7 separate regions of the Homo sapiens genome follow, and regions 1, 3, 4, 5, 6 and 7 are each linked to region 2. Evidence: promoter capture Hi-C in 16 types of primary human blood cells and fetal thymus (Javierre and others, 2016). All regions are on one chromosome and are shown on one strand. The core of a region is centred on a gene start or on the middle of the fragment in contact, and the rest is flanking DNA. Distances in the headings are between cores, read along the strand shown. Region 1 overlaps KNSTRN (kinetochore localized astrin (SPAG5) binding protein). Region 2 holds the start of SRP14 (signal recognition particle 14). Region 3 overlaps IVD (isovaleryl-CoA dehydrogenase). Region 4 has its middle 8.3 kb from the start of BAHD1. Region 5 overlaps PHGR1 (proline, histidine and glycine rich 1). Region 6 overlaps PLCB2 (phospholipase C beta 2). Region 7 has its middle 5.4 kb from the start of INAFM2.

Region 1 (4,320 bases), core at 1,506-4,005, 360 kb after region 2:
TACTTGAAGCCAGGAGTTTGAGACCAGCCTGGGAAACATAACAAGACCCCATCTCTACAAAATAAAATTTAGAAAATAGCCAGGCGTGGTGGTACATACCTGTAGTCCCAGCTGCTCAGGAGGCTGAGGCAAGAAGACCACTTGGGCCCAGGAGGGCAAGGAGATAAAGTCTCACTGTTGTCCCCCAGGCTGGAGTGCAATGGCGTGATCTCGGCTCACTGCAACCTCCGCCTCCCGGGTTCAAGCGATTTTCTTGCCTCAGTCTCCCAAGTAGCTGGGATTACAGGCATTTGCGACCATGACCGGCTAATTTTTATATTTTTAGTAGAGACAGGGTTTCACTGTGTTGGCCAGGCTGGTTTCGAACTCCTGACCTCAGGTGATCTGCCCGCCTAGGCTTCCCAAAGTGCTGAGATTGCAGGTGTGAGCCACTGCACCCGGCAGGAAAAAAATTTTTTAAAAAACAGACCAACATCAGTACATTACTATTAACTATATTCCAAGTCTTCATTTGGATTTTAGCAGTTTTTTCCACTAATTTTTTTTTTTCTGTTACCGAGGCTTCTTGCAAATGTTCACATCACCAAGGCATGAGGCAATGTGTAACACAGTAGGTTGCTCAGAGTTGGGAATTGAGAACTATATGTAATCCATTCTATGGAAACTTGATAACTCAAGGAGAAGACCTGTAGTAAGCACAGATTCTTTGGTCTGGACTGTTTCAGATTGCTTGGATGAATCATGGGATATTGCACCAAATGTAGAGGATTTCATCGTTCCAGTTTAGATACAGGAGTCTAGTCCCTCTCTACTACTAGAGGGACAATTCCTAAAACCAGTGCATAGAAATAAAATCTAAAATAGAAGATACAGTCTGTTGATACTCCAGTGGTCTTCCTTAGTGGAATAGGAGCATAATGTTCTGATGTGGGAATTGTGTTTCCTGTTAGTCAAGAGTTTTGTGTATGTGTTGTTTTCTTTTGGAATGTCTTTCCATGCAGGCCTTAAAGGTAAAGCTGGAGATGAAAGAGGAAAGAGTCCGATTCCTAGAACAGCAAACCTTATGTAACAATCAAGTAAATGATTTAACAACAGCCCTTAAGGAAATGGAGCAGCTATTAGAAATGTAAGAAGAAGCAAGTGGCCAGATGGCTCCCTCTTGGGCATAAAATCTCAGAGGAAGCTACTTAGGACATCATCTTGGCCATGATCTTCTGGGACTCACCATCTCCAGAATGAAAACAATTTCTACAGTAGACTTAAGGACAGTTTATGCTGAAATGGCAATTCCTCATTTAAGCAAGTTTTCCCAACCTTCAGGTTGGTCAGCCCTCCTGAGCCTCACAGGTGGATAATTGAGGCCTACAAGAGAGGGGAGCCTAGGAGCTTGGATTGACCTTCTAGTCAACCACCTGACTTCAGCACACCATTACAATCGGGAGACTAAACCAACAACCAGAGGATCTAAAATGTCACATTCAGATTTTCAGGAAGAAAATCTTCATTACAGTGGAGCACAAATGTTCCATACAAGACATCATTGAGGAGCCATGCTGTCCCCTTCTAACCTGAAACACATTCTTTCCCATCCTGGTTGGGCTTCTGTACCTCCTTATTAATTTATGAACCTGAAGTTGCTTGAAGTGTTTTGGGCTTAATAAATGGGGTGAAAGTATAGGTAGCAGTAACACCTACATGAAACAATACACCTTGGATCTTTTAATCTAAATTACTTTTCTTTTTTAAGTCTACTTTTAAAATAAATACTTCTGTAAATATTCTGACTGTAACATTGAGGAATGAAAATAGCCTTTTAACCTAGATATGTCAGTTGATCATTATTGAACTAATTTAGTTAACAAGTCCAAGATATTCTGACTTAATCTAGAATATTTTTCTGCTACTCTTTAAGAGTCCTGTGGCTAGTCCCTCTGTCTCCCAAGAGCATTGGCTAGTCTCCTGAGGGTGTTGCCCATTTGTAGCAGTGGTTTCACCAGGTCTGTGGCCACTTGCTGCCCATGTTTTCCCTGCACTCTTTTTTTTTTTTTTTTTCTGAGACACAGTCTCACTCTGTTGCCTAGGCTGGAGTGCAGTGGCGTGATCTCGGCTCACTGCAACCTCCACCTCCCAGGTTTAAGCAGTTCTCCTGCCTCAGCCTCCCAAGTAGCTGGGACTACAGGGGCATGTCACCACGCCTTGCTAATTTTTAGTATTTTTAGTAGAGACAGGGTTTCACCATGTTAGCCAGGATGGTCTCGATCTACTGACCTCATGATCCGCCCGCCTCGACCTCCCAAAGTGCTGGGGTTACAGGTGTGAGCCACTGCACCCGGCCTTTTTTTTTTTTTTTTTTTTTGAGACAGAGTCTTGCTTACTCTATCGCCCAGCACAGTGGTGCGATCTCTGCTCACCACAACCTCCGCTGTCTGGGTTCAAGCAATTCTCCTGAGTAGCTGGGATTACAGGCACCCCACCCCCCACCACCACACCCAGCTAATTTTTGTATTTTTAGTAGAGGCGTGGTTTCACCATGTTGGCCAACTCCTGACCTTAAGTGATCCGCCCGCCTCAGCCTCCCAAAGTGCTGAGGCCAGGCATGAGCCACCACACCCTGCCATTTTTGTATTTTTAGTAGAGTCGGGTGGGGTTTTGCCCAGTTGGCCAGGCTGGCCTCTAACCCCTGACCTCAAGTAAGCCACCCACCTCAGCCTCCCAAAATGCTGGGATTACAGGCGTGAGCCACCACGCCCAGCCCTCCCTGCACTCTTAAGCATGATTATCTGCCTGCTGTTTGCTTTGCACAGCCAATCCTAGGCCTGGTCCAATAGATCCTTTAGTACATGGCCTGAAGTCCATGACAGGCCTCCCCCCGGTTTACCAAAGGCATGGCCAAATTTTTTTCTTAACCAAACTAGGCTGACTTTGGCCATCTCCTGTTCTTTCTGCACCTCCTAATTTCTTCTCCAAACCCTCCCACCCCCACCCTTCAGCATCTTTAAGGCTGCCCAGAGACACTCAGTGAAGCCAGTAACACTCCAACCTGAGCTTAAAGGGCCAAAATTGTTTGCCTTCTCATACAGACATTCACAAAGTTGGTTATGTTTCAAATATTTTGAGCCTATCCACTAAAAACTGGTCTTTGGCAAATTCTCTCAAACTGAGTTCATACCAATAAAACTGGTATGAACAGGCTGGGTGCAGTGGCTCATGCCTGTAATCCTGACACTTCGGGAGGCTGAAGTGGGTGGATCACGATGTCAGGAGTTAGAGATCAGCCTGACCATCATGATGAAACCCTGTCTCTACTAAAAATACAAAAATTAGCTGGGTGTGGTGGCACACACTTGTAGTCCCAGCTACTCGGGAGGCTGAGGCAGGAGAATCTCTTGAACCCAGAAGGCGGAGGTTGCGGTGAGCCGAGATGGCACCATTGCACTCCAGCCTGGGTGACAGAACAAGACTCTGTCTCAAAAAAGAAAAAAGTATGAATAAGTTCATACCAATAATACCTGTCTTGCTGGGTGGTTATAAAAGAGAATTATGTCCAGTACCTAACCCAGTGCCTGGCAAAGGTACTCAAATCCTGGTGGTGATATTATTAAAGTTTAAAACTTATCCTGGCAAAAGATTCCCTTCATAAATTCACCCCAAACTTCTATTCCAGTGCCCCCTTCTCCCCACCCCAAAACACAGTCGCTGATCTTACCATGCCTTTGCAGGCCTCAGTTATTCAACTTCCTTCTGACTTGGGAACTCTCAACTTTGACTCTTAAGTTCAAATTGCAACCATCTTAAAACATAAAGCCAAAACCCCACCCTTATCCCCTCCAGCTACCACATATACTATATTCACAGCCAAATATCTCAAGAAGCTATTTCCTTACCATTTTTCTTTCTCTGCCAATCTGGCTTCAAAGTACACAGAAACACTAATGTGATGTAGCTACAGTAGGCAAATCCATCCAAAGTAGAATATAGATTACCAGGGACTGAGCAGGAGGGGAGGGGAGTTTCTCTTTGGGATGATGACATTCTGGAAATGGAAAGTGGTGGTGGTTGCATAACATTGTGCATATACCTAATGCCACTGAATTGTACACTTTAAAATGGTTGAGGCCGGGTGCGGTGGCTCACACCTGTAATCCCAGCACTTTGGGAGGCCAAGGTGGGTGGATTACCTGAGGTCAGGAGTTTGAGCGGCCTGGCCAACATGGTGAAACCCTGTCTCTACTAAAAATACAAAAATTAGCCGGTTGTGGTGGCGGGTGCCTATAGTCGCAGCTACTTGGGTGGCTGAGGCAGGAGAATCGCTTGAACCCG
Region 2 (3,903 bases), core at 1-2,500:
GAAATAATAGCATCACCTGGTACCAAGAAACTGCTTATTGAAGGCCCAGCACAGTAAGGGGCTAAGGAATCAAATATTTATGCCAGCTGCTCCTTACAGTACTACGAATAAGGACCAATATGCTACTTTCATTTCCACAAGAGCTTTAGCAGAACTAACGACTGTCTGACCTCTACCTTCTTATTTTATTCTTGAGGTTTCCACTACTAAAGTATAGGAAGGTCCTGGTCTCAAAAATAGCCACACAGGGCAAAAGGGAAAAACAAATAAAAGCCTGGTTCAGAAACGCCCCATCCTCTGTTAAGTTCAAGTCTTTACATTTCAAAAGACAGCCTTAGAAATTAAGCTCACCACAGTGCTGATCTTCTTCTTCCCATCGGTAGCTCTTAACAGACACTTGTTGTCTGCGGGCTCAAAGCCCTCCACAGTACCCTTCTTTGGAATGGGTTTGGTTCGACCGTCATCTGAAGGAAAAAATGCATCCTGGTGAACACGGCCGCGTACGTGGCTGAGCGGCAGACAAACAGTTAAAACAGAGGAGTGGGGTAAGTGATGACCTAACCCAGCCCCGCTGCTCTAGTTTTGTTAAACACCTCATCTGCTATCACGGTCTGGCGAAACCCTGGAGAAACTATTATTTCCACGACGGAAACATGTAATATCGAAGCACGTTAAATTCCACTCAAAGTGGCGGCGTCTGGGATCCCTGACAAAGAGCCCTGGGCTGCTTGGGGCCCATTGTTACCAGAAGCAACCTAGGCGGCTCAGTGCTGGGGACTGAGCCAGCTACAATCCCTACTATTTTCCGGGCCCGAAGCCCCGAATGTGCTCAGTACAGGGTGGGGAAAGGTAGAGGAAGGCGGCGGTCCGCGGCAGACAGACTCCGGTGGCTCCCAGACACCGGGAACCCAGGGAGCATCGCCCGGCTCCCCTCCCGCTGCTTACACTTCTTCAAGGTGATATAGACGCTGCCCGACGTCCGGCACTTCTGGAAAAGTCTGGTCAGCTCCGTCAGGAACTGGAAAACAACAGGCCCAGCCCCGTTAGCCAGCCCCAAATCCTCGTCCTGCCGCGTCAAGGCCCTGGTCCTCCTGCAGGAGGCACAGGTCTCGAGTAACGCCTGAGCCGCCCCCTTCCCTCGGCCGGCCAGGCCTAGCCATACCTGCTCGCTCTCCAACAACACCATCGCGGCGACGCTGGCTCGACTCCCTCCGCTTAAGCCCCTAGCAGTGAGAGCCGGAAGTTCGGCCTAGGCTGGGCGGGACTTCCGCTACTAGACTTCCATTGTCTTCCACCAATCTCTTCTCTTCCACCAATCCCGGCCTGCGCCCTCCCCCCTCCCCGCCCGCCTAGCGCCCGCGCCCTGGGACGTCCGGGGGCCTGTGACCCGGAGGCGCTGGGGCTGTCCTGGGTCGTCACATGCGAGAAATCGTCTCACCCCAGCCAGTGTGACGGAGTGAGAGCAAAAGAAAGTTTTGATAGCAGCGTACGATTTATATTCAGCTGTATGCTGGGCAGGTAACCTAACAACTCAGTGACTCAGTTTCCTTATCCATAAAGTAAGGGTAATGATAGTATCTACCGCGCAGTGTGGTCGTGAAGCGTAAATGAAACTCAGATTAAATACGTAGAACAGTGCCTGGCACATAGAGCGTGTTCAGTAGGTATCAGCTATTGTTCTTTTCATTATTGTCATTATAAGTTCCTGTAGAGATCCTTTAAACTCTCCCTAAACGCTGACCTGCAGCTCTAGCCAGAAGGGCTGGGCCGGGCGTGGTGGCTCACGCCTGTAATCCCGGCACTTTGGGAGGCCGAGGCGGGTGGATCACGAGGTCAGGAGATTGAGACCATCCTGGCTAACACGGTGAAACGCTGTCTCTACTAAAAATACAAAAAAGTTAGCCGGGCGTGGTGGCGGGCACCTGTAATCCTAGCTACTCGGGAGGCTGAGGCAGGAGAATGGCGTGAACCCAGGAGGCAGAGCTTGCAGTGAGCTGAGATCGCGCCACTGCACTCCAGCCTGGAAGACAGAGCGAGACTCCGTCTCAAAAAAAAAAAAAAAAAAAAAAAAAATGAGGGGCTGGAGCCCAGTCTTTAGTTCTACCTCTGATTAGTCAGGAGAACTAGGTTGTAAGCCCTCTCTGCCACTAGCCAACTTGAACCCTGGGCCCTCTATAAAGTCAAGCATTCCACCACACAAGAGGTTTTCGCTGAGTGCCTCTCAGTCTGTGCCAGGCACGGTTGTAGAGGTTGGGGATGCAGCAGGATAAGAAAAGCTAAGTTCCTGGTTTCCTGGAAGTTGGGTTAAAGGGGCAGGGAGGAAATAAACAATGAAGCAAACAAGTAAGTAGTACAGCTTCAGATAATGAATTCCGTGAGACAGCCTAAGCAGGGCTGTATAATGAGAGTGGGAAGGGGACTGCCTGGGTTGGGGTCAGGGGAGTTCTCGTCGAAAAGGAGAACTTTGAGTTGAAAGCTGAAAGGACCAGCCATCCAAAGATCTAGGGACACAGTGTTTCAGACACAGGGAACGGCTAGAGCAAAACCTTCAAAGGGGAAACAAGTTGCCCTGTGTCTGTAAGACTGGCAGGTGCGGGTGGGGGTGAGGAGGGCTTGTGGAGCAAGGAGTAAAGGAGTATGGAGAGGTAGCTGGGGACCAGATTATGTAGGGCCCGTGACCATAGTAAGCCTGGATTTTGTTCTAGATACAAAGAGAAGACTCGTTAAGGAAGTTTTCAACAGAACACTGAAAATCTGATTTATATTTTTTAAAGATCCCCCTGTCTGTGTTGTGGAGAATGCACTGTAGAGAGACAGGGCAGGAAATGAGGAGCCCAGTTAGGAGATTCAAACTTAATGGCTTAAATATGTTCACTCTCTGATTTCACATTTTCTTCCAAATGGCCAGCGCCCGTTGCCCACTTCCTGCCCTAGGCTGATGACCTTGTGTAGCCAACCTGTATTGGCTTTTGGTTCTCCAGCATTTGAACCTGTTTGCAATCCCCTGTTGTGTGGGTTTTGGTGAGAGGCAATAAATAAATAAATAGAAGGGTCAGAGGGTCACTCTCTCAACTGCCCTCAGCACCTGGGCTCAAGCATATGACCTAACGTGGGTCAATCTGGTGCTCTCAACCAGGACTTTGACTTCTGAGCTAGTAATACCAAGGCCCAGGGCTCTTGCATGGGTGTCCAGTCATTTGAATGTGAGGATGTTTTTGCTCATCTGTATTGGCAGATATCATGAAAATTATGCATGGGCCCTTTTTAAAAAAATTTTATCTCATCAGCTATCATTAGTGTTAGTGTGTTTTACATATGGCCCAGGACGATTCTTTCAATGTGGCCCAGGGAAGCCAAAAGGTTGGACACGCATGCTAGAGGTTATTCATATGGTGCCATCACAAAGTGGTCTTGTGTTGGCGGCCCTATAGGAGGGGTTTTCACCAGACTGTTCTAATCTTTGCTAGTCTTGAGGTGTGCGAAGATGACTCCCCAATTTTTAATTATAGCTTTTACCTCTGTATTGAGCTCCAAACTTGCATATTCAGCTGTCCACTTGGTAGTTCCACCTGGATGTGTAATGAGCATCTCAGATATTACGTGACCAAATCAAAACTTTTTACTTCCCACATCTTTGCTATTTATTAAATGGCACCACCGTCTGACCAGTTACTCAAATAAAAACAACCATGAATCATCCCAGATTCCTTTTTCTTTTTGAGGCAGGGTCTCACTCTGTCACCCAGGCTAGAGTGCAGTGGTGCAATCTCGGCTCACTGCAGCGTCCACCTCTCAGGCTCAAGCTATCCTCCAGCCTCAGCCTCCTAAGTACTTGGGTCTATAGGCATGAGCCGCTGCCACCAGCTGTTCTTTTTCTTTTAATTTTCACATCTACACCTGCAT
Region 3 (4,120 bases), core at 1,568-4,067, 370 kb after region 2:
GGCTCTGGTTTGGATGATATTAACGTCTGAAAGAGGCCCAGACTGGCTTGCAGTGCCCGGTAAAGAGATGAGCCTAGGCCAGGCGTGGTTGCTCACACCTGTAATCCCAGCACTTTGGGAGGCCGAGGCAGGTGGATCACCTGCGGTCGTGAGTTCGAGACCAGCCTGACCAACATGGAGAAACTCTGTCTCTACTAAAAATACAAAATTAGCTGGTCATGGTGGTACATCCCTGTAATCCCAGCTACTCGGGAGGCTGAGGCAGGAGAATTGCTTGAACCTGGGAGGCGGAGGTTGCAGTGAGCTGAGATTGTGCCACTGCACTCCAGCCTGGGCAACGGAGCGAAACTCCGTTTCAAAAAAAAAAGCCCAGCCTGCTTGGGCCTGTATTCACTCTGGGCATGAGAGTATGAGTGGAACCCAATATACTTCTCCTTACATCCTAGAAAGTTATATCACCTTTCATAAAATGAAACCACTTGAAGATTAATTGAAACCATCTTAATGTAAAAGCATTAGGGGAAAGGCTGCTGGGTACTCCTAAGCAAGACTCTCCTACTGTGTTTTGGGGGTTTATGTACCCCACTCCCTGCAGACAATATGCTTCTGAATCAGATTGTATTTTACGGAAGAAAGAGGCAGTTAGAAATCAGATGAAAATGGCCAGGTGTGGTAGTGGGCTCCTATAATCCGAGTGACTCGGGAGGCCAAGGCAGGAGGATCGCTTGAGCCCAGGAGTTCAAGGCTGCAATGAGCCATGGTTACACCATTGCACCCCAGCCTGGATAAGAGAGTGAGAGCCCGCCTCTTGAAAAAAAAAAAGAAAAGAAATCAGATGAAAACTCTTTCAAGGGAACCTGAAAAAGAAAGCTGGTTACAAGTTCTGGTTTCTGCATGATGTCATGGTGGCTGTTTCTAATGTCACCTGCCTTCAGGCTTTCCTTCCTGCAGTTGTAGGGGCAGGTCAAGGTTTCCTTAGAGCCTAGAACGAGCCTGACTTATTGGTCAGAGTGAACATGTGTATAGGACCTTGCTAGGCTTGACCCAATCAGCAGGGCTGGGGGTGGTATCAGGTGTCTCAGCCACTTGGAGTTTGGATCTGCTGCCAAGGAAAAACCGTATATTTTATGAGGAGTTCTGAAATTCTCTGCCAGCATCTCATCTGCCCTCTGCTGTACAGCTCACCTCAAGATTTTCCCTGAGGCTGTGGCTCTCCTGTCCTGTCACCAGTCCTGCTTCTTTCTTTTTTTTTTTTTTTTTTTGAGACAGAATCTCACTCTGTCGCCCAGGCTGGAGTGCAGTGGCGCGATCTCGGCTCTCTGCAAGCTCCACCTGCCAGGTTCACACCATTCTCCTGCTTCAGCCTCCCGAGTAGCTGGGACTACAGGCGCCCGCCACCATGCCCGGCTAATTTTTTGTATTTTTAGTAGAGACGGGGTTTCACCGTGTTAGCCAGGATGGTCTTGATCTCCTGACCTCGTGATCTGCCCACCTCAGCCTCCCAAAGTGCTGGGATTACAGGCGTGAGCCCCATGCCTGGCCTCCAGTCCTGCTTCTTTGGGTTCAGCCCTATGCTATAAAATCTCACCTTCCTCAGGCCTTTTGCAGACACATCAGATCCTCTGGCTTTGTATCTGTTCTTGGTGCTTTGGACACCACCTCCACCCCAATGCCTTTGTTTTTCTCCAGGCCCTCTTTCTTCATTTATTCATCTGCCTCTGCATTTCTGTAACTTTCTGAGTAGTGGGTGCTCAGGTTGTTCACGTATCTTCATCAAGAAGTCTGTCTGGGATAAAGCAGAAGTTGCAATGATTGCCTTCTGAATCACCCCTCAGCTGAGGAGCACCAGCAGGCAAAACCAGTCCACTGAGCTTGTAAGCAGGTCTGTGGCATCAGCTTATTCTTGTTGCTAGAGAGAATTTGGAGTAGGTGCTACAAGGTGCTTCCCTTCTGCCGTCAAATGTAAGATTCTTAATGAATGTCCCGATTTAATCTGGGCTGCGTTTTCCACTCCCTTGTACCACACCACTCACAGTTCAGTATGGCGGCTCCGGCCTGGGCTACCTGGAGCATGTGCTGGTGATGGAGGAGATATCCCGAGCTTCCGGAGCAGTGGGGCTCAGTTACGGTGCCCACTCCAACCTCTGCATCAACCAGCTTGTACGCAATGGGAATGAGGCCCAGAAAGAGAAGTATCTCCCGAAGGTGAGGAAATGGAAATGTAATACACGCTAATCTCACAGTGCAACCACCAACTAAAAGATACCCTCTCCCCTTGGGGGCCAGTCAGACCTGCTTTCTGTAGCATGCTGCCATGAACCAAATGTGGTTAGGAAGGGGCCATGGATTGCTTTAAAATACTTGAGCCAAAAATAATAAAAATAGGACCAGAACTCTTGCATTGAACAACAGACAGACAACATTTGAAGAGAACTCTAAGAAATGGAAGAGTAGGACTAGCTTCCTTTGCAAAGGGAATGGAAAAAGGAGAGGCATTTTCAGCCTTGTAGCCATTGGGCTTAGAAGAGACTTCTAGGACTTTACCGACACCCTGGTCTGAGAGCGAAGTTTGAAGGGGTTTAATGTGGACAGGAAGAGGCAGTACCAGTGAGCTGCTCTAGGGTACTCTGAGGTTGTAACAAGGCCTGTTGGGGGTTTTCCTTGCAGCTGATCAGTGGTGAGTACATCGGAGCCCTGGCCATGAGTGAGCCCAATGCAGGCTCTGATGTTGTCTCTATGAAGCTCAAAGCGGAAAAGAAAGGTGAGGCCACTCTCAACTTGGGAGCCAAAATGGGCAGAGGTACAGACATTATCAGGATAATGGAGCAACAATTGTGGGTGGCCCCTGCTGGGTTTCCAGAACTTTCTCAAAGGTGGACAGCTTCTTGCTCAGCAGAAGGTCTATGGCCTGGCTGAGACAGGCCAAGATGGCTTGAGCAAATAGCCAACATCCTGCCCTTAGGAAATCACTACATCCTGAATGGCAACAAGTTCTGGATCACTAATGGCCCTGATGCTGACGTCCTGATTGTCTATGCCAAGACAGATCTGGCTGCTGTGCCAGCTTCTCGGGGCATCACAGCCTTCATTGTGGAGAAGGTGAGTATAGGTGGGTGCAGGGCCAGGAGGCTTCTGCCTCCTGACAGTGGTACCAGAGATAGCCCGTTCACTGATCTCAAATGGAATCAGTGTTGTGTGCTCTGCAAGGCCCCCAGAGGTGGGGGTGAGGCAGAGAGCAGACTGCAAGGAGGGTGACCAAAAGTCCAGGAAGTCCAGGGCAGATGGGTCACTTCTGAAGACGGTGGAGCCGTCCTCAGCGCCAGGCCACACAAAGAGGTCTAGAAAGGGGAGGACTAAAAGGAGGTCAGGACATGACGGTCAGGGTACCATTGGTGGATCTGATGAATGTGGCCATGGGAGACTGAGGTGTGGGTGGGATGCAAGTGGAGACTGCCCCTGCAACAGCCTTGACAACAGAAGCAAGAAGGAAGCAGAGCAGGAGTTCCAATGAAAAGTTAGGAGTTTGGGTTTGTTTTTAGAAATGAGAGAACTGAGCAGATTTTTTGGTCAGAAGGAAAAAAAAGGGAAGAAAAAAGAAAATAGAGGGAGAAATTGAAAAGTGTGGGAATGAGTGGGCAGAACACAATGGTGAGCTGGGGCAGAAGAGAGAAGGATGGGTTACAGGTGATGGTGCAGGAACCACTTGCCTAACGATCATGAGGAGGAAGCCAGGGGCCCTGTGAAGGCTGGGGCCACGAGTGGGGGAGTTGGCAAGAGTTTCATGAGCGAGTATTGTAAAGGTTTGCGGTACCCTCCATAGAGAGGGGGAAAGTAGCTGTCTAGGGTTGGAGCAGTAGGGACCTGGCTGAGATTGGAAATCTCAAGGTTGCGTGATGCCACCCTCATTACAGGCTGAAGGCAGCATGTGCCAGCACTTTGCTGGTCACTTGCCAAAACATGCTGCAACCCAGTAGTCCAGGTCAAAGTACAGAGGGCTCAGTTCAGCCCTAGTGGGATCCCTTTGGGTACAGACAGGAGAACAACAGAGGATAAGGGAATTGACCGGGCTGGTGACAGTGTCTTGGAAGTAATGTCCCCTGGGGGAGGGAAATAAGGCCAG
Region 4 (4,213 bases), core at 255-2,754, 390 kb after region 2:
ACAGAGGTGGGAGGAGATTCGAGGCTGGAGACTCCAGTAAATGACAGGCTGTGGTGATGGATTAGCTATGGGTGGCGGCTTGGGAGGGAGAGGGAGGTGCCAAGGATGAGTCCAAGGTTCTTGACTCTTAAAACTGCCAGTGCACCCCACAGTGGAAACATTGGGAGAACACTGAGTTTGCTTGTAGTTGGAAGTTGGCTGAAGTGTATCTGATGTTCTTGAAAGACCATATTGATGTTTCAGTGTCAAAGAGAGTGCAGAAGGCAGGGAAAGGGTACTTTTGATAACGGCTTTGCCAAAGGAATATCTTTTTATAAAGAAATATGACAATCGACTTGCAACATTTTGCCCCCAATCTAACAGTGAGATGAATGTTGCTCACAGCAACTTCATGTGTAAAATTTGAATGAGTTGCTAACAGACATTTGGAAAACATAAGAGTAGAGAATTGTTTGGGGAAGCTTATTTAGGAAGAAGTGATGGAGAAATCATTAAAAGTGACAAGGCTGGGATGTAAACCCTGGCTCCACTATTATTACGCTTTTTTTTTTTTTGTCTTTTTTTTTCTTCCTTTTTGTGGAGAACGGGGTCTCGCTTTATTGCCCAGACAGGTCTCGAACTCCTGGGCTCAAGCTATCCTCCCACCTCTGCCTCCCTGAGACCTGGGATTACAGGTGTGAGCCACCGTGCCCAGCCGGCTCCACTATTATTAATGTGACCCTGGGAAGTTACCGAACCTCTCTATGCCTCAGTTTTCTCATTAGTAAAATGAGAATAATAACACTATCTATTTCATAAGACTGGCTGGGGATTAAGAGTATGTGTAGGCCGGGCGCAGTGGCTCACGCCTGTAATCCCAGCACTTTGGGAGGCCGAGGCAGGCAGATCACGAGGTCAGGAGACCGAGACCAGCCTGGCTAACATGGTGAAACCCCGTCTCTACTAAAAATACAAAAAATTAGCTGGGCACAGTGGCGGGCGCCTGTAGTCCCAGCTACTCGGGAGGCTGAGGCAGGAGAATGGTGTGAACTTGGAAGGCAGAGCTTGCAGTGAGCTGAGATCACGCCACTGCACTCCAGCCTGGGCTACAGAGCAAGACTCCATCTCAAAAAAAAAAAAAAGATTATGTGTAAAGAGCTTAACACAGTGCCTAACTCATGGAATCTCTCCAGGAACATTACCTATCACAGAATACACCCTGACAGAGGGAAGCAATGAAAAAGGCAATTGCTGATTTCCCATAATCCCTTTCAACAAAGAAGAGTTGTTGTCTATATAACTAAGTGTAATTTTTATAAATGCCCTTATTAGATTTTTAAATATAGTATAATATTCACAAATCAAGGGGAAAAATTGTCAGGCCTCTCATATCTAAGTCTTTTTTTTTTTTTTTTGAGATAGATTCTCACTCCATCACCCAGGTTGGAGTGCAATAGTTCCATCTTGGCTCACTGCAATCTCCACCCCCCAGGTTCAAGCGATTCTTATGCCTCAGCCTCCTGAGTAGCTGGAACTACAGATGCGTGTCACCACACCTGTAGAGACAGGGTTTTGCCACATTGGCCAGACTGGTCTTGAACTCCTGGCCTCAAGTGATCCGCCCACCTCGGCCCCCCAAAGTGCTGGAATTACAGGTGTGAGCCACTGCGCCTGGCCTATCATATCTAAGTCTTGATGTCACTTTTCCAGTTACTAATCATCTGGCCCAGTCTTGCTTAGGTCATACACTCTTTGATGTGCTCTTCAGTTTCTGAGGATCACGCCTCTGCTGGGTGGAGTAGCTTTCCTAGGTCAGAAGCAATGCTGTCTGCATGGCCTCCCAAGTCTTCTTGGTGCCTGCACAGTGCAGAGCACAGGTGGCACCATGGTTGGTTAACACCATACTTGTGGCCCAGACTGTAGTCCCCCCAGAGGGTGTCTGCTGGAAAGGGCTGGTCCTGGCTCTTGCTGTGGGTTCACTGAGGTTAAGTGAAGATGGCAAAAGAACCACAGGTGATTCTCTCCTCTGCTCTGGGTTTTGCAAGACTAGAGAGGTCAGTGGCTGTGGCTGAGAGCCTGTAGGAGATGGAACTACCTCACCTTGAGGAATGTGCTTAGGGATGCCACAGAGAATCTTTCCCGAAGAGGGAAATGGCTAGGGCCCTGGCCTTGGGAGGATGGAATGGAGAAGCCATGGGAAGAGGGGCTGGCCTCTCCTCCAAACCCAGCAAAGGGAGCCATCCTGCCTGACTGAAGCCAGAGTGGGGCCCACTGCTGGGTGGACAGAATACAGCCACAGGCACTACATTGTCAGAGCTCCAGATGGGAGACAAGGAGTACAAAACAGAGGTGGAAGACTGATTCCAGTATGGAAGCAGGGCAGGCTTCAGGCATGGCCAGATTTGGGCATGATGAAATAGATTCACAATTGCTAATGTTCTGGGGGCACTTGTGGCTACATCAGGTACTATTCTAAGTACTTTATATGTTTTAAGACACTGTAGCGCCAGGACTGTACTCAGAAAGTCTGCATTCTTAACCACTACGCTATGTGAAATGTAGAAAGAAGAAAGCTTTTAGACATATAAAGGGTTAGACCTCTATTTTATATGTTAAATGCCGTATGAAAAAAAAAGCAAAGGTTTTGGAGCCACTCCAAGCCTATGTGATCTTGGGCAGTTACTTAGATTCTCCAGGTCTCAGTTTCCTCATTTGTTTGTAAATTTGAGAGTACATTTACCTACCAGAGTTCTTGAGGGTTAAATAAAGAAACGTATGTTGAGTGCCTGTTCATGCCTTCTGTAAGAGACACCTGCCCCCTCTGGACCTCCTGCCGGCTTTGGAGGCTCTCAATACACTGCCCATTCCAGATCTGGATTTCTTCATCTTCCCAGGGGTCTGTACGTCTGGAATAAAGGAACCAACATAGTGGATGCACCCCTGGTCTTCCAGTCCACAGCACTGGGAGTTCCTCAGGGGAGAAGTCATACTCCAAGTTGATATCTGAGCGGACAAGTGTTCTGGTAACAGTAAAGGAGGTGACCCTGGAAGCTGAGGTCCCAAGCAACCCAAACCTAGATCATCACAGAAATGTCATGTTTCTTGGAATAATTCTCCCCTCTCTGTGTATTTATCCATTCAGTTTCTATTTACCAATTGTTTACTATTCAGTTCACCAAGCATTATTAGGCAACTACTATTTGCCAGGTATCATGCCATGTTCTCAGGAGTCACCTAGAAGAGCCCACAAACTCTGGACCATGTTTAATTTCCCTTTTCGTCTCCAGCCTGGGTCCATGGATCTTGGAGTGTGTTCAGTAAACATCTGCTCCTGGGGCAATAATGAAGGTACTATTAGAGATTGGCATGAGAATGCAACAGGGCTCTCTGAGTAGGTTCCAGTGAACTAGACACTGCAAAGGGCTGCACCACGATACCCATCCATGTCTCTGTGGCCACAGTGCAGGGCAAGGATCACACACCTGAAAACCTTCAGGGTTCAGGTCCCGTAAATGCCCCACATGGGCAAGGTGGGAGTATGGTAAACTGGAGCATGCCTACCCCATACAGACTGCATTTGCTACTTAGTACCAACCTACTGTTGCAAGTGAAAATGTGCGCCAGGGGTAGCAAATCTTCTGATTTTTTTCAAGAGAAACTGTAAACCTGGATTTTTATTTTGAATCTCCAAAAATTTCAGCATTGGCCCCTAATTTTAATCTTTTTTGAAAGCCCCATAGACAGTTAAATGGAACTTGTCTGCCTGCTTACTTTTGCTCAAAGGCTATTAGTTTGGGAGCCCTAAGTGTGCCTGTGAAAGGGGAGAGGTAGAGGGCTGTATGTCCTGGGGCCAGGTTATGAGAGACCTAGAATGCCATCCTTCCTTGGGGCCAGGACTGTGCTAGACACACAGGAAGCCATAAAGAGGATGTTAAAGCCATAGGCCTGCCCTCCAGGGGTTTATAATCTTATAAATAAAGACTTACGGGCAAAGCAGCAGATGGTCAGGAATGTGTGAGGAGGAGACAACTTGGAGTGCATAGAGTTCAGGGCAGCAGGGAGCAAGGTGGAATTGAGCTTCAGGAGAGTTTCACCTGAGCTTCGGGAGACCTTTCCAGGAAGTCAGGCTTGGACTGTGAGTATGAGGATTCTGGAGGACTCTGGGAGATCCATAAACAAATATGAATGGGCACGACCTATGCTGGAGACCCCAAAGAAAAGCCCCAGGGAATCT
Region 5 (4,145 bases), core at 590-3,089, 310 kb after region 2:
TATGACAAAGTGAGACTGTCTCAAAAAAACTTTTAAAGAGGCACTAAGGCTCCCTAGAAAAAAAAGAGGTTCAGGGGGCTGTGTCTTGCAAGAGGCTAGGGTTGTTGTATTGGGGGCGCTGTTTGTTTTTGTATGCTCAGCAAACTTGTAAGTACCAGAAAGCCCTGATGTCAAGTATTTGCTCCTGACGTCACATACTACACTCCCATTTGAGGGTTGAAAAAAAATGAATGTACTGTATGTTCACTGGGCCCATTCTGGGGTTGTCCATTGTGACTTGCCAGCCCCAAGCAAGACATGGCCAGCCTTGGCACCACGTTACCTCAGCAGCTCCATCTCATGACAGCACGGCTTGTTGGTGAATGACAAGTTGGCTCAGACTCCAAGCTCCCACCCCCTTCCAATCCTGGTGGGAGGAGACAGGTACAAGCAGCTAGGACCCCATGGAAGGCTTTCCATTCACTTGAGCCCCAGGGCAAAAATCCATTCACTTGTGCCCTCAGGGGCCACCAACCCCATTCCTGTCCTAGCAAACCATCCTTCCCGTCCCTGCACTGGGCACACTGATAGCTCCAAGCTTCCTGCTCCCATGCCATGCCAGATGTTTACACAAGACAAGAGTCTGTAGGGACAAGCATACCATGACCTGGCACAGGGCAGACACACAACATGAATAATTAGCAAATGAACGGATATTGAAATCTTCCCAAGAGGAATCGGATTAACACACAATTGTTGAGTCTAGGGGGGCAAGTGTAAGAGTATGGGGTGTAGGGGCTGGTACATGGTGCTGTTGTGTCTCCATCTACCCACCATGTAGGTGAACCCGCTGTGTCCATTTAACCCCCATGCCTGGCACCTACAGTGCCAGCTCTATATTGGGGCCAAGCTAAGCCGGAGGGAGCAGTTTTTTCCCTTTCTTCCTTTGAAGGGTGTGTGTGTGTGTGTGTGTGTGTGTGTGTGTGTGTGCGCGCGCGCGCGCATCCGTGGGAGGGAGAAAGGAAAGACTGCAATTTAGATTACAGTAAATTAAAAGTTACCTTTTGAACACAGGTATTCCCTGCTCTTACTCCAAAAAGATGGACCCAGGTAAGCACTGTGGCTGAGAGGCTGGGAATTGGAAGAAGGGAGAGAGCAGGAGAGCGGTAAAGGCAGGGACTATCAGTCAGCCATAACTAGTGCGTGCCAAAAATGTACGTGCGTGTGTGTTTGTATGAAGGCAGTGGTAGGGGTCCACAATGAAGACAAGCCCTTACATACTGTAGAACATGTTACAGTTTAAAAAGCATGCTTACTCATCATGTTCTTAGGTGCTTCTAAGGGTAGGTGCTTCTCCCACCGCACACTCAAGGCCCAGGGGAGCTAGGGGTTATGCTCAGGGAAAGGCCATAGAGGTGCAGCTGGGTCGGAATCCAGAATCCAGTTCTTGGGAGCTGTGCCATCGGCTTCCCTCGAAATGAACAAAAGACCGTCCTAGCCTTTAAGAAGTAGCAGGTGATTCCCACACCAATGGGGCACTTCAGAACATGCAGGACCACTCAGGTGGGTGCTGCAGGAGCCCAGTGGACCCACAGCTGGGCAGCCTGGATGGCTCCCATGTGGATTTCCTGCATGAGGGCAACACGCAGCTGCTCCAGGGAGATTTCCAAGTGGGAGGAGGCATGAGCAAAGGCCAAGAGCTGAGAACAGAAGGTCATAAACAGGAGACAACAAACAGCTCTGAGAGGCTGAGCAGAGATTGGGCCGAGATACGTGGGGCGTGACAGGGGCAGAGGACAGATGGGGAGGTTGGCAGGGCTGCTGGCCTGGAGGTAGAAGCAAGAATCAGGTGGATGACAGGGTTGGCCACCATGGAGCACCTCCAGGCTGACAGAGTTGAGACAAGAACCCATACCTCCTAACTGGCGCCACTCCACCCAGGAGGACTCAGCCAGCCCTTGAGCACACAGGGACACACTGCTGAACCTTATATTGACTTCCAATATGTATCTTTGCTGAGAGAATGAATGAAGGAATGATTGTCAGGCAAGTGACCATGTCTGAGAGGCCCTGTTGGGTTAGGGGTGTGGGCACAAAATCCTTAGTGCCAGGGAGAAGACAGGTTTTTTTTTACTGCAGAACCAAATGACCAAAGCTGCTTCTTTTTTTTCCCTTCCTCTCCCACAGGTCCGAAGGTAGGAAAGTTCCCCCAATGGTCTCCCCTTTTTCCTCCCACTGTCATGTCCTCCAGACCCCTAGCCTCCTTCCTAGACCCTCAGGGAGCAGCCACCACTTCCCCCAAATGAAAAGAAGGGAGCAGGCTCAGGCAGCAGCCCCGTGGAGTGGGGGTGGGGTGGGCAGCGCTGCACTCCTCCACCCCCTGCTGGCTGCAGCCTTCTTGGCGTTCTCTCCTCTGTTTTCCCATCTGTCTCTCTCCTTTCCTCACGTCCCCTCCCTGCCCTAGCAGCCCATCCTCTCTCCTGCTGCTTCCCCGCCTGTGCTATGCTTTTCTGCTTTCCTGGCTACCCCCACAGCCTTGCTGGATAGCTGGCTTGCTCCCAAACTCCAACCACACTATGGGGCCCCTAGGACCTACTCCTGCCAGAGAAAGGAGACTGCGTCTCCTCCACCTCTTCTCACCCACTGGCTACCACCAGCAGACTCAGTTCCTAGGCCTGGTCTGTGTGCCAACCCCCAAACAAAAGAGCCATAGGCAGAGAGGCAGGTGGGGTGGGAAGTGGCTGTTTCCAGGCATCACTGAGCCTGGATGGGGCAGGGGCTGCTCTACCATGGTCACAGGAAAGCGCCCAGCCCTGGAGCCTGCCTCTTCCCCACTGGTACCAAGCCCTAATCAAGCCCTAGGAGGCAGAAGGAGACTGGGGAGTTATCCAGCCCAGACAGTGGGAGCATAGCCCCGCCCTGCTCCACAGGGCCCCAGACCCCGAGTCCCCTACCACAGAAGCAAGGTGGTATCTCTTGCCTGCCCCCTGGGCTTGTGGCAAAAAGTTAAAAAAACAAAAAAAAAACAAAAAACTCCCCTGGCCTTGGGACTTCAGGAATGATTCCAGCCAAGATGGAAGGTTAAACCACACTTTTTCCAGACCTCTTCTGACTGAGGCAGAAAAGCTTTGATTTTACTTTCTATTCTTCCTGATTTCTTGGGTCTGGCATCCGCTCAGGAACAGGTATGAGCTCGCACATACTCATGTACACAGAACCATGCACTCCATGCACGTATCTGTGTACATACCAAGCTTGAATATGAACCCACCCATGCACACGTACACAAACATAGCTATTTTATATAAATATGGCACACACCGTCTACACACATACACACTACCTATAAAAAGAATACATACATCCTCACCTTGCCACCTCCTACCCTCCGTGTCTTCTCATCCTCCAACTGTCTTCCTTCTTCCCCTCCTCAGCTCTTTCATCTCCCCTGACCCAGCCTCCTGTCTCCCCCTGCCCCTGGCCTTCAAAGAGCTCTTCTGTAGCCTCCTCTAGCCTCACCCTTGCTCCTAAGTACAATGAGCCTGCAGTTCCTAGCATGGCAAAGCCTCTAATCACTCTGCAAGGGTTCCTGGGTGAGAGAAAGGAGAAGATGAAATAATTCTGCTTCTTAGTTGCAAATAAAATAAATCGAGGTACAGGGAGCGGGAGTCATATCTTGGCTCAAAGAATAGAAACCAATAAATCTAGGTTGCTTGCCTTTTATCTGCTCAGTGTTCTGGCCTCACCAAGGCAAAAGGCACGGGACATGCTACCCATGCCCCCAGCCCTCCACCGCAACTCCTTACTTGCCTAGAAATCCTGAGTCCCCCAGGGAAGTGGAGTGAGGGAGAGCTGATCTCAGGTAAGCTTAGCCCTGACCTCTGACTCTGACATTGTTCATTTGACTTTCCACAGGGGCACTGCCACTGTGGGGGGCATGGCCATCCTCCAGGTCACTGCGGGCCACCCCCTGGCCATGGCCCAGGGCCCTGCGGGCCACCCCCCCACCATGGTCCAGGGCCCTGCGGGCCACCCCCTGGCCATGGCCCAGGGCCCTGCGGGCCACCCCCCCACCATGGTCCAGGGCCCTGCGGGCCTCCCCCTGGCCATGGCCCAGGTCACCCACCCCCTGGTCCACATCACTGAGGAAGTAGAAGAAAACAGGA
Region 6 (4,032 bases), core at 1,533-4,032, 260 kb after region 2:
AGAGGCTCATGAGGAAACTCTTGTAGACAGGTTCTGGGAAGTCCTCAGGATTGATGGCGTCATTCTAGGGGCATAGTAACCTTATTGCCCCTGCCCTCACCTTCTCAGAGCTAAGAACCACAAACTCGGCCCAGCCCTGGTCAAGGGGACCTGGTCAGAAGGCGGGCTCAAGGCAGACAGAAGAACTTCAAGGACACCCAAGCATCCACTTCTCAAGGCCCTGGTTGCTGAGCAGAGAGCATGCTTAGCTGGTTTGCTCTGACCCTGATTTTGTACAGTGGCTATTCCATTGGCTGGGGCAGGATCGGAACTAAGAATAACCAGAATGAGGTAGAAAAGAGGTCAGAAGAAATGATGCTGCTTGCCAGGCTAGTAGGCTATCTTTTTTAAGTGGAGGACAAATATTCAAAAAGAAGCAATTTGAATATAAACATATATGCACCTAACAACAGAACCCCATAATATATAAAACAAAAACTGATAGAATTGAAAGGAGGACAATTCAACAATAATATTTGGAGACACCAAAAGCACCGGGACAAAGAAAGATAAATTAAACGTCATCAAAATTAAAAACTTTTGTGCTTCAAAGGACACCATCAAGAAAGTGAAAAGGTAACCCACAGAATGGGATAAAATATTTGCAAATCAGATATCCGATAAGAGATAAGTCAACAAAAAGACAACCCAGTTGAAAGATGGACAATGGATTTGGACAGGTATTTCTCCAAAGAAGATATATAAGTGACTAATAAACACAGAAAAGGTGCTCAATATAATTTGTAGTTAGAGACATGCAAATCAAAACCACAATGAGATACCACTCCCACTAGGATGGCTAAAACAAAAAACAGACAATCACAAGTGTCAGCGGGATGTGACTAACCTAAAACCCCACACAGCACTTTGGGAGGCCGAGGAGGGTGGATCACCTGAGGTCAGGAGTTCGAGACCAGCCTGGCCAACATGGTGAAACCCCATCTCTACTAAAAATACAAAAATTAGCCCAGCATGGTGGCACATGCTTGTAATCCCAGCTACTTGGGAGGCTGAGGCAGGAGAATTGCTTGAACCTGGGAGGCAGAGGTTGCAGTGAACTGAGATCACGCCACTGCACTCCAGCCCGGGCAACAGAGTGAGACTCTGTCTCAAAAATAAATAAATAAATCCCTACACAATGCTCTCACTTTAGAAAACAGTTTGGCGGTTTCTCAAATTGTTAAATATAGAGTGACCACATGACCCAACAATTCCACCCCTGGGTATATACCCAAGAGAATTTACACATGTTCACACAAAATCATGTACATGAATATTCATAACCAAAAAGTACAAAAAACCCAAACATCTACCAACTGATAAACAGATGAACAAAATGTGGTATATCCATACAATGGAATATTATTAGGTGGTAAAAAGGAATGAAGTACTCATGCATGCTACAACATGGATAAACCTTGAAAACATTATGAGAAATGAATACAGCCTGACATCGAAAAGCATATATTTATGATTTCATTTACTTTACCACCAGAATAGGCAAATCTATAGAAATAGAAATGAAAAGTACATTTGTGGTATTCAGGGATTCTGCACCTTTGCATTCCTTCCCCCCCCAAAAAAAACATTAAATGTCTTTCAGAATCACACTGGAAGGCCAACATCAGTCTTAGTTTGGAGCAGAGGGTCTGAGCAGGAGAGTCTAACTGGATCTCCCCAAACCCCTCCCTGTCTCTGGAGCTTCAGCTCCAAGCAAAGTTGGGTCAGTAGCCTCTACTGAGACACAAGGAAAGCAGATAGATAAGGAGGACTTAGCCAAGGGAGGAGCTCAGGCAGCAGGAGAGAGGGAGGGTGGATGTGTGCTGACCACAGGTAAGTGTTGCTGGCTGTAGGGGAGCCGCAGGAGCCCATTCCTACCTCTCCCCAACGCCACATTTGGATCCCTGTGACTGACTGCATCAAGGAGTCACCAACTCTGCAGAGCTGTGGCTGTGGGGTAAATGCTCCTCCTGGGATTCATGTGGGCAGGTGATCAATGGGGGTCGTGGTTTTATTTATTTATAACGTTCCAAATTCTTACCAGGAGAAAATACTCCATGGGGTATAGGCTGGGACCCACACAAGAGCACTGGCCAAGCAGGGACAGGGGCTGAGATTCGCTCCATTGGCCAGGCTTGAAGCCTAGCTCAGGGCCATATCAGCCCAGAGGGCTCCTTTTTGTAATTCACACAAGTTGCTTCATGGGGTGACCCTGCTTACAACTTGTAATTAAAAATTAATTATTTAACTAAAAAGACAGGGAAAAATGCTTTTCTGTACAGAGCAGAAGTCTGCATCTTGGCAGCTTCCGCCTTTGGTTCAGTTCCTCTCCCTCGACACGCTGCAGACTTCCAGATCCCTGCAGACTGCCGCCTGCCACTGCCGACCTTATCTCGCTCCTCCAGGCTGAAAACATTCACGCTCAGCTCCCATTCCCAACACTAGACTGGGAATGCATGCCGTTTCTGCTGCCTGCCCTGAACACAGTCCATCAACCACAGCCCCAGCGCCCCCACCACCCAGGGTAGGGGATACAGACAAACCTGCTTGGAGCTCAGGGTCTCACTCCCTTGCCCTGGCTCCACCCCTGTGCCTAGTGTCAGTAACCAGCAGCTCCAGGGTTGATTGGCTCTCCAGGCTCTTGGCTGGGGCTGTGATGTCACCTCTGCTCCCCCACCCACCATTCCTGGCCAAGTTGCTTTCTGGTGGGGACAAGAATGCTGGGGGATGGGCAGGGGTGCAGATCCACTCACTTTGCCTTTGGGGAGGTGGCAGGCACTGAGAGCAGCTTCCACCCGCTTGCGGTCAGCAGGAAACATCTGGAAAAAGCTGAAGGGGCAGAGAAAGGTACCAGGTACAGAGAGGAGTCAGGCCTGAGAAAGAAAGGCTTTGGGGAGCCCCTGGAAGCCTGGGGAGGGGTTGGGGGGCTCACTTCTTCACCGGAATCTTCCCTTCAGAGTTGAGCTGCATCTTGAGCTTCACAAGGCTGGGGGCAGAAAGCAGCCCGTCAAGGCCCAGGGCTGGCATGCTCAGCACCAGGGCTCAGGCCAGGCAGAGGGCACTTACATCTTGTCCAGGAAGGTGCTGCGGGAGGCGTTGGCCGTCAGCGGATGTTTGACTAGGGCCAGTACGTCCTCAGCCCAGGCCTGCAGGACCACAGAGAGCAGCGGTCAGGCTCCTGAGCACCCCCGCCCAGGCCTGTGTCTCTCAGGAAGTCCAGGCTATCCCAGGGGCCCAGACCCAGGCCCAGTGCTCCCTGGCACACCTTGCCCACGTTCTCCTTGTAGGAGACGAAGTTGTGGAAGGTGAGGTCCACCATGTCCGGGCCGGACACCACCGTGAGTGTCTTCAGCAGGAAACTGTTATCAGGAAAGTCCATGTTGAAGACGTCCCGGAGCTTCTGGCTCTGCAGCACGTGGTGGTATGGTTAGGATGGAGGTGTGCTCCCTCCCTGCCCAGTGTGGCTCTCTCTGGCCCTCCCCTCAGCCACTTGGGCTATGGCCCACTGGGCAGAACCCCATCCCCATCCCAGGAACCACAGGCCTTAGCATCTTCCTGTCCCTGACTCCAGCGGCTGGGATGGGAAGGAGAGGCCCTGAGGAAAAGGTTAGCCAAGATGGCGGGCAGGCGGGGAGGCCGGCCTGGGAGTCCTGTGTGTGTTGGTTGCCACTTTTGTTTGAAGATAGATTCTTAGCTCCCAGTCTCAGGAAACCCCGCTTCCCACCAATCCCTTCCTCCAATTTTCCTACCAGCATTAGGCAAATATAGGCAAACTAGTCCGGGGGTGGGGGTGTAAGCCACCCCTCCCAGACAGACTGGGGTGCTTTAGGGGCAGGAGGTGACCCCTCCTCCCAGATCCCTGCCATCTCAGCTCACTGTGCGCAGTTCTGAAGCTCAGAGCCCAGGCGAGCCCAGGAGCTGCCGCTCCCCTTCCTTGGCTTCCAGCCACGGTCCTTGCTGCCCAGCCAAGGAACCATTCCCCGTGCTTCAGAA
Region 7 (4,142 bases), core at 1-2,500, 290 kb after region 2:
ATGCCTAGCTGACAAAGCTAAGGGACCAGTAAGCATGAATATTAAGATTTACTGCAAACATTTAGCTGGCTAAGCACTGAGGTGAGGATAAGCTGCCTGATAGCATCACTGTCCTCACCTTTCAACCATTGGCCTCTAGATAACTCAAGAAGTGCTAACACCAGAAAGGCAAGTGTACATCTGTGGTGCTTGGTCAGAGCTTTGTCTACCATGGAGGAGGTAAATGGCTGAGAGGTTTAGGTTGCTTCAAAGGTGAGGTTTTTTTCTTCCCTTCAAGCAAACAAAAAAGACATGTGGGTGAAAGGCACAAATATAAGGGATTAGTTATGCTGCAAAATATATGGTAAGCAATTGAGCTCAGCTCATTATTAGACAATACTGCCCGGTACAAATCCGGAGTGAGAAGCCAGTGTTGGTGGGGCCCCCTGAGGCCTGCACTTCAGCAGAGCCGTTGGGGGGTAGCTACTGTTCTTTTACATTACCTTGTAGTCTGCAGGGAGGCATGGAAAAAGTCTGCCCTTCTTTTATTTCCCTCTTCAGCCTACACAATGGCTTTCTGAGAGAGGGCTTGGTAAGGTAGAGCAGAAGGGGAGTGAAAGAGTTTCCAAGGCTCTTTTGGTCGGCCCCTCCTTTTTGCAGACAGTGACATGTGGCTTCTACAGCTGCCCACGGCGGCTTCACATGTTGGGCACATACAGCAATATGTACAGTGGGAGCCTGCTAGCCGACGAGACAGGGCCTGGTTGGCTGAGGAGCAGTGGTCTGAATAGCTTTATTTCCAAGGGTTAGAAATCAGCTGCAAAATTGTCCATCAAGTTTTAAGCCAGGAAGGAGAGATCTGTGCAGAGGGGGTTACTTTCCTTCAAAGGCTTTGCACCGGGACTACCAGGACCCTTTCTAGGTGTTTGCTTATATTAGAAGTTAACGGTGTGCATTCATTTATTCCCTGACGGCCTGAACTTGAAGAAAGAGATAAGCCTGTTTTGAAAGTGAAGTTTTGGGGGGTGGAGGATCAGGGAAGGAACCCATTAGGCTGAGTTTGTGAGGGTATCTTCACTTTCCCCATTAATGTTAAGGTACAATGAAGTGTTTCTCTGAGGTTTTAAGCATAAGAAATATTTCTCTTCCTAACAGCCCTAGATTTCCACATGGTATGAGACCATGTTTTGGAAGCTTTTCTGTCTACCTTGTTTTTTCAGTTTTCACTGGGGAATTCTGAGATAGCGTGTTCTTTCGTGGAGTATTTATATCCTGTCTTGAAATGCTGAATGCATAGCATCTACTTGTTTCTACATGTTTCTTTAAGGAGAGCTGAAAGGTCAGGTCACAAGCTTTAGGACTACCACAGCTATGTAAAAGGGGTAATAATTGTCCTCTCTTTCCTGTCTACAGAGAATGGAGGTATTTCTGGAATTTCAGTTCAGTAACAAAAGGGCCACAGCTATACTTTTCGTTTTCCATCTCCCTCAGTGGAAGGAGAAACTGCAGTGGCTTTGCCTGTTTCTCATGACCAGTACTCACTCAGTGCCTGGCAGTGGGTACTCAGAATTTGTTGATCTCTGAGTTGATCAGCACCCAGTGGGTGCTGGGTGCTGATGGAATCAGCCTTAGTGTCATTGTGGTGTCCCTGTCATAATCTACTTGCATACCCGTATCCACAGCCCATAATCTGGTTCAAGGAGGTGGGTTGCTAAAGAAAACCCCTGCAAATCATAGCTGCACTGATCTCTCTAGCCTCAGTTTTTTTATTTCCAAGTTGAAGGACTCGGCCTTGGCCTTCCTGTTCTTTCCGGGTGCCGCAAGTCCACAGTGGTATTCCATATGGTGCTTAACGGACACACCATAGGATATGTGATCCATTCATTGTCTCCTAGGTCCCAGCCCTGCAGCCTCATGTTAAGCTATAAAAATATCTGCTCTGTCGACAGTTTTTTTGGTTACCTCTGTTTTACTTGCTGACATAGCCTGTGGTTTTCTGCTGCCAGAAAGCCTGTGTTATGCTTTTTGTCCCCTCCAGTAGCTAACTGAAAAAGCAAACAAACTTCTCTTTACCCCTCACCTAGACTCTACCAGGCTTTCCACCCTAAATGCAGAAATACCCAGCATGGGAGCCACCTGGTCAGTGCTCCTCACTGGATCCTGTGCCCCATTCAATTCTATAAACATTTGTTAAGCTACCACTAAAGGACCAGAAAATCACTCTCAAGGAATTTACAGTCATGCCCGCAAGTCTCCCCTTGTCAAACTATCCTGTTTTCTTAACTTCAGTATTCTGTTTTTGCAATAGCTTATCAGTTAAATAGCAATAAGATTTTAGCCAATATCCTTAGGGATATTTTCCACAAACCATTACCTTTAATTCAAGAACTTTAGTTTAGTTTAGGTCTTTATTTGGTGTCTACAGTGTGCTAAGTAAGCCTCAAAACTCCAAAAACCAACTTGTCCAAAAAAAAGCAATTGCATTGATTACCAAGGATTTCCTTTGACATACGTATACCTTTCTCTGCTACCTCAGTGTTCAGAGTCATTAGTTGAGGTCTCCCCACACTTGTGTCCTGGAGGCCCACCTGCTCCCTCAGCTCCTTGCTGGTATCCTGGATGGTGTAGAGTCACAGCAGTCAGGCTTAGAGGTATAGACAGCTCACGGCATCACAAGGCCCTGGGCAGGGAGACTGTGTGTTCTTGGGAGGGACCCCTGAACTGGAAGATGGGAAGCCTGGGGACTCAACAATGGCATTAGTTAAGGCCCTTGACCTCTCTCTTTTCTGCTAACCAAATGGGAATTCCTGAGAGCAAATGGAGGTTATAGATATGAAAGGGCTTTGAGATCTTGGGAGTAAAAGTACAACGTGTACACATGAAGTAATATATTTTCAAGGGAATGTCTGTCCCTTGGGCAATATGATGCACAGAAAGAAATGTGAAGGGGTAGGTGGTAAACATTACACCAGTGTCTAGACTAGCAGCATCAGCGTCACCCGGGAATGTGTTAGAACAATGACAGCTTAGGCCGCATCCCAGACCAACTGAAGAAGAAATTCAGAAAGCGAAGCCCGGCATTCTGTTTTAACCAGCCTTCCAGGTGATGCTGATGCACACTGAAGTCAGAACCACTGGCCCACCCTTTTCCTCTGATGCTGTAACTTAGGGGTAGGGTATTTCTGTTTTGACAGATGGTCATCGAGGTGCCTTTTGACCCTTTCTCTTGGTTAAAGACAGCAGTCCTGCTGGGGGAAGAGGAAATAGTGTCCCTAGTGCTTATAAGAAAAGGGAAAAAGGCTGCATTGTCCATTATTTTTGACAGTTGCCACAGAACTTGCCCTGGAGAGCTTGTTAAAAAGGAGGCAGCCCTGAACGAGTCCCCTCCCTCTCCCGCGAAGGTACTGCTGTGTTTGCCTCACCTCCTGCCCTGAGGCCTGCTGCTTCTTGAGCCAGTCCTTAAAAGGAGCAGTGGGTGCCACATTTGTTCTTTCTGGTGCCAGGTCTGTGCTATTTCACTTCCCCGGCGTCAAGTGGGTGCTTAATGAGCAGCTGTGACGTAAGGCCCAGCAGACTTGAGAGAAAGCAGCTGCAGTCCATGCTTTCTGCTGGCTGCTCTCCTTCCCTCTCCCAGCCTTGAGTTCTCCCACTTTGGTGGGGTTGTGGTCAACCCCTGTCAACCCTTCCTCATGAGCCCTGATAACCCTTGCTCAGAGATGTGTGTGGGGTGTGTGGACATGGATAAGTGACTCAAGATGGAAGTGACATGGTGTCTAGTTCTATTCCCTTGGCCCCTCCCCTTGATTTAGTCCCTAAAATAAGAAAATGTGGCTGTATTAGGATTTTTGACAGTTCCTTCTTGTTTTGGGGGGTGAGTGCGATCTTTTCCTGTTGTTCTCGTCCCTGACAGGGTCGGGGCTGGAGGTGACTGTGGTGCAACCTTCCAAACTTGTGCCTTGTTAGATAAGCTAAGCTCTCCTGCTTCCAAGGATCCCCAGTTCCTGTCCCTTGACCATAGCAAACGCTAGTCATGCTGCTCCTTTGGGTGACAAAACAACTCTGGGACACACAGAGCAAACTCCTCAAGGGGGTTTGTTTCTGGGGAAAATAAGCAGAAAACTGTGATGTGAGTGTGAGATTGCTATTGAGGTAGACAGAAGAGA

Evidence for each region. Contacts are between HindIII fragments. The CHiCAGO score rates a contact against its expected background, and 5 or more counts as called.
Region 1: a contact is called between a fragment that was not itself captured here and the fragment with the promoter of SRP14 in region 2, in 1 of 17 cell types (total B cells). The highest score is 5.5, in total B cells.
Region 3: a contact is called between a fragment that was not itself captured here and the fragment with the promoter of SRP14 in region 2, in 6 of 17 cell types (naive B cells, total B cells, naive CD8 T cells and 3 more). The highest score is 5.8, in naive B cells.
Region 4: a contact is called between a fragment that was not itself captured here and the fragment with the promoter of SRP14 in region 2, in 3 of 17 cell types (naive B cells, naive CD4 T cells and total B cells). The highest score is 9.1, in naive B cells.
Region 5: a contact is called between a fragment that was not itself captured here and the fragment with the promoter of SRP14 in region 2, in 7 of 17 cell types (naive B cells, total B cells, activated CD4 T cells and 4 more). The highest score is 7.0, in naive B cells.
Region 6: a fragment that was not itself captured here is called in contact with the fragment with the promoter of SRP14 in region 2 in 6 of 17 cell types (total B cells, naive CD4 T cells, naive B cells and 3 more); the score reaches 7.6 in total B cells.
Region 7: a contact is called between a fragment that was not itself captured here and the fragment with the promoter of SRP14 in region 2, in 10 of 17 cell types (naive B cells, total B cells, naive CD4 T cells and 7 more). The highest score is 13.3, in naive B cells.

The regions. Positions count from the first base shown.
Region 1 is chr15:40,392,468-40,396,787 of GRCh38, forward strand. KNSTRN (kinetochore localized astrin (SPAG5) binding protein) reads left to right here. Exons shown (of 9, transcript NM_033286.4): 9 at 1,002-1,821. The coding sequence ends at 1,130. Among named protein-coding and RNA genes, the nearest start is that of IVD, 11 kb to the right of the region's middle. The HindIII fragment of the contact is 6,486 bases long and covers 1-4,320 here.
Region 2 is chr15:40,037,931-40,041,833 of GRCh38, forward strand. SRP14 (signal recognition particle 14) reads right to left here and starts at 1,251. Exons shown (of 5, transcript NM_003134.6): 1 at 1,163-1,251; 2 at 946-1,018; 3 at 352-464. The coding sequence starts at 1,186. SRP14-DT (SRP14 divergent transcript) reads left to right here and starts at 1,381. Exons shown (of 3, transcript NR_040060.1): 1 at 1,381-1,518. LOC124903471 (a long non-coding RNA gene) reads left to right here. Exons shown (of 2, transcript XR_007064596.1): 2 at 1-479. RefSeq lists enhancers at 269-1,214, 915-964, 985-1,164, 1,215-2,159 and a silencer at 1,245-1,454. The HindIII fragment of the contact is 8,433 bases long and covers 1-3,903 here.
Region 3 is chr15:40,408,593-40,412,712 of GRCh38, forward strand. IVD (isovaleryl-CoA dehydrogenase) reads left to right here. Exons shown (of 12, transcript NM_002225.5): 4 at 2,036-2,205; 5 at 2,668-2,761; 6 at 2,963-3,099. Among named protein-coding and RNA genes, the nearest start is that of IVD, 4.9 kb to the left of the region's middle. The HindIII fragment of the contact is 6,098 bases long and covers 1-4,120 here.
Region 4 is chr15:40,430,588-40,434,800 of GRCh38, forward strand. It overlaps a transcript of IVD not described here. Among named protein-coding and RNA genes, the nearest start is that of BAHD1, 8.3 kb to the right of the region's middle. The HindIII fragment of the contact is 2,091 bases long and covers 460-2,550 here.
Region 5 is chr15:40,352,179-40,356,323 of GRCh38, forward strand. It overlaps PHGR1 (proline, histidine and glycine rich 1), which reads left to right. Exons shown (of 4, transcript NM_001145643.2): 2 at 1,054-1,089; 3 at 2,167-2,174; 4 at 3,895-4,145. The coding sequence starts at 1,080. The coding sequence ends at 4,125. Among named protein-coding and RNA genes, the nearest start is that of PHGR1, 3.2 kb to the left of the region's middle. RefSeq lists an enhancer at 2,226-2,751. The HindIII fragment of the contact is 2,528 bases long and covers 576-3,103 here.
Region 6 is chr15:40,299,165-40,303,196 of GRCh38, forward strand. PLCB2 (phospholipase C beta 2) reads right to left here. Exons shown (of 32, transcript NM_004573.3): 4 at 3,305-3,445; 5 at 3,106-3,185; 6 at 2,972-3,025; 7 at 2,793-2,868; 8 at 1-64. Among named protein-coding and RNA genes, the nearest start is that of PLCB2, 6.8 kb to the right of the region's middle. RefSeq lists an enhancer at 2,944-3,753. The HindIII fragment of the contact is 7,575 bases long and covers 1-4,032 here.
Region 7 is chr15:40,327,009-40,331,150 of GRCh38, forward strand. No RefSeq gene overlaps it. Among named protein-coding and RNA genes, the nearest start is that of INAFM2, 5.4 kb to the left of the region's middle. The HindIII fragment of the contact is 158 bases long and covers 1,172-1,329 here.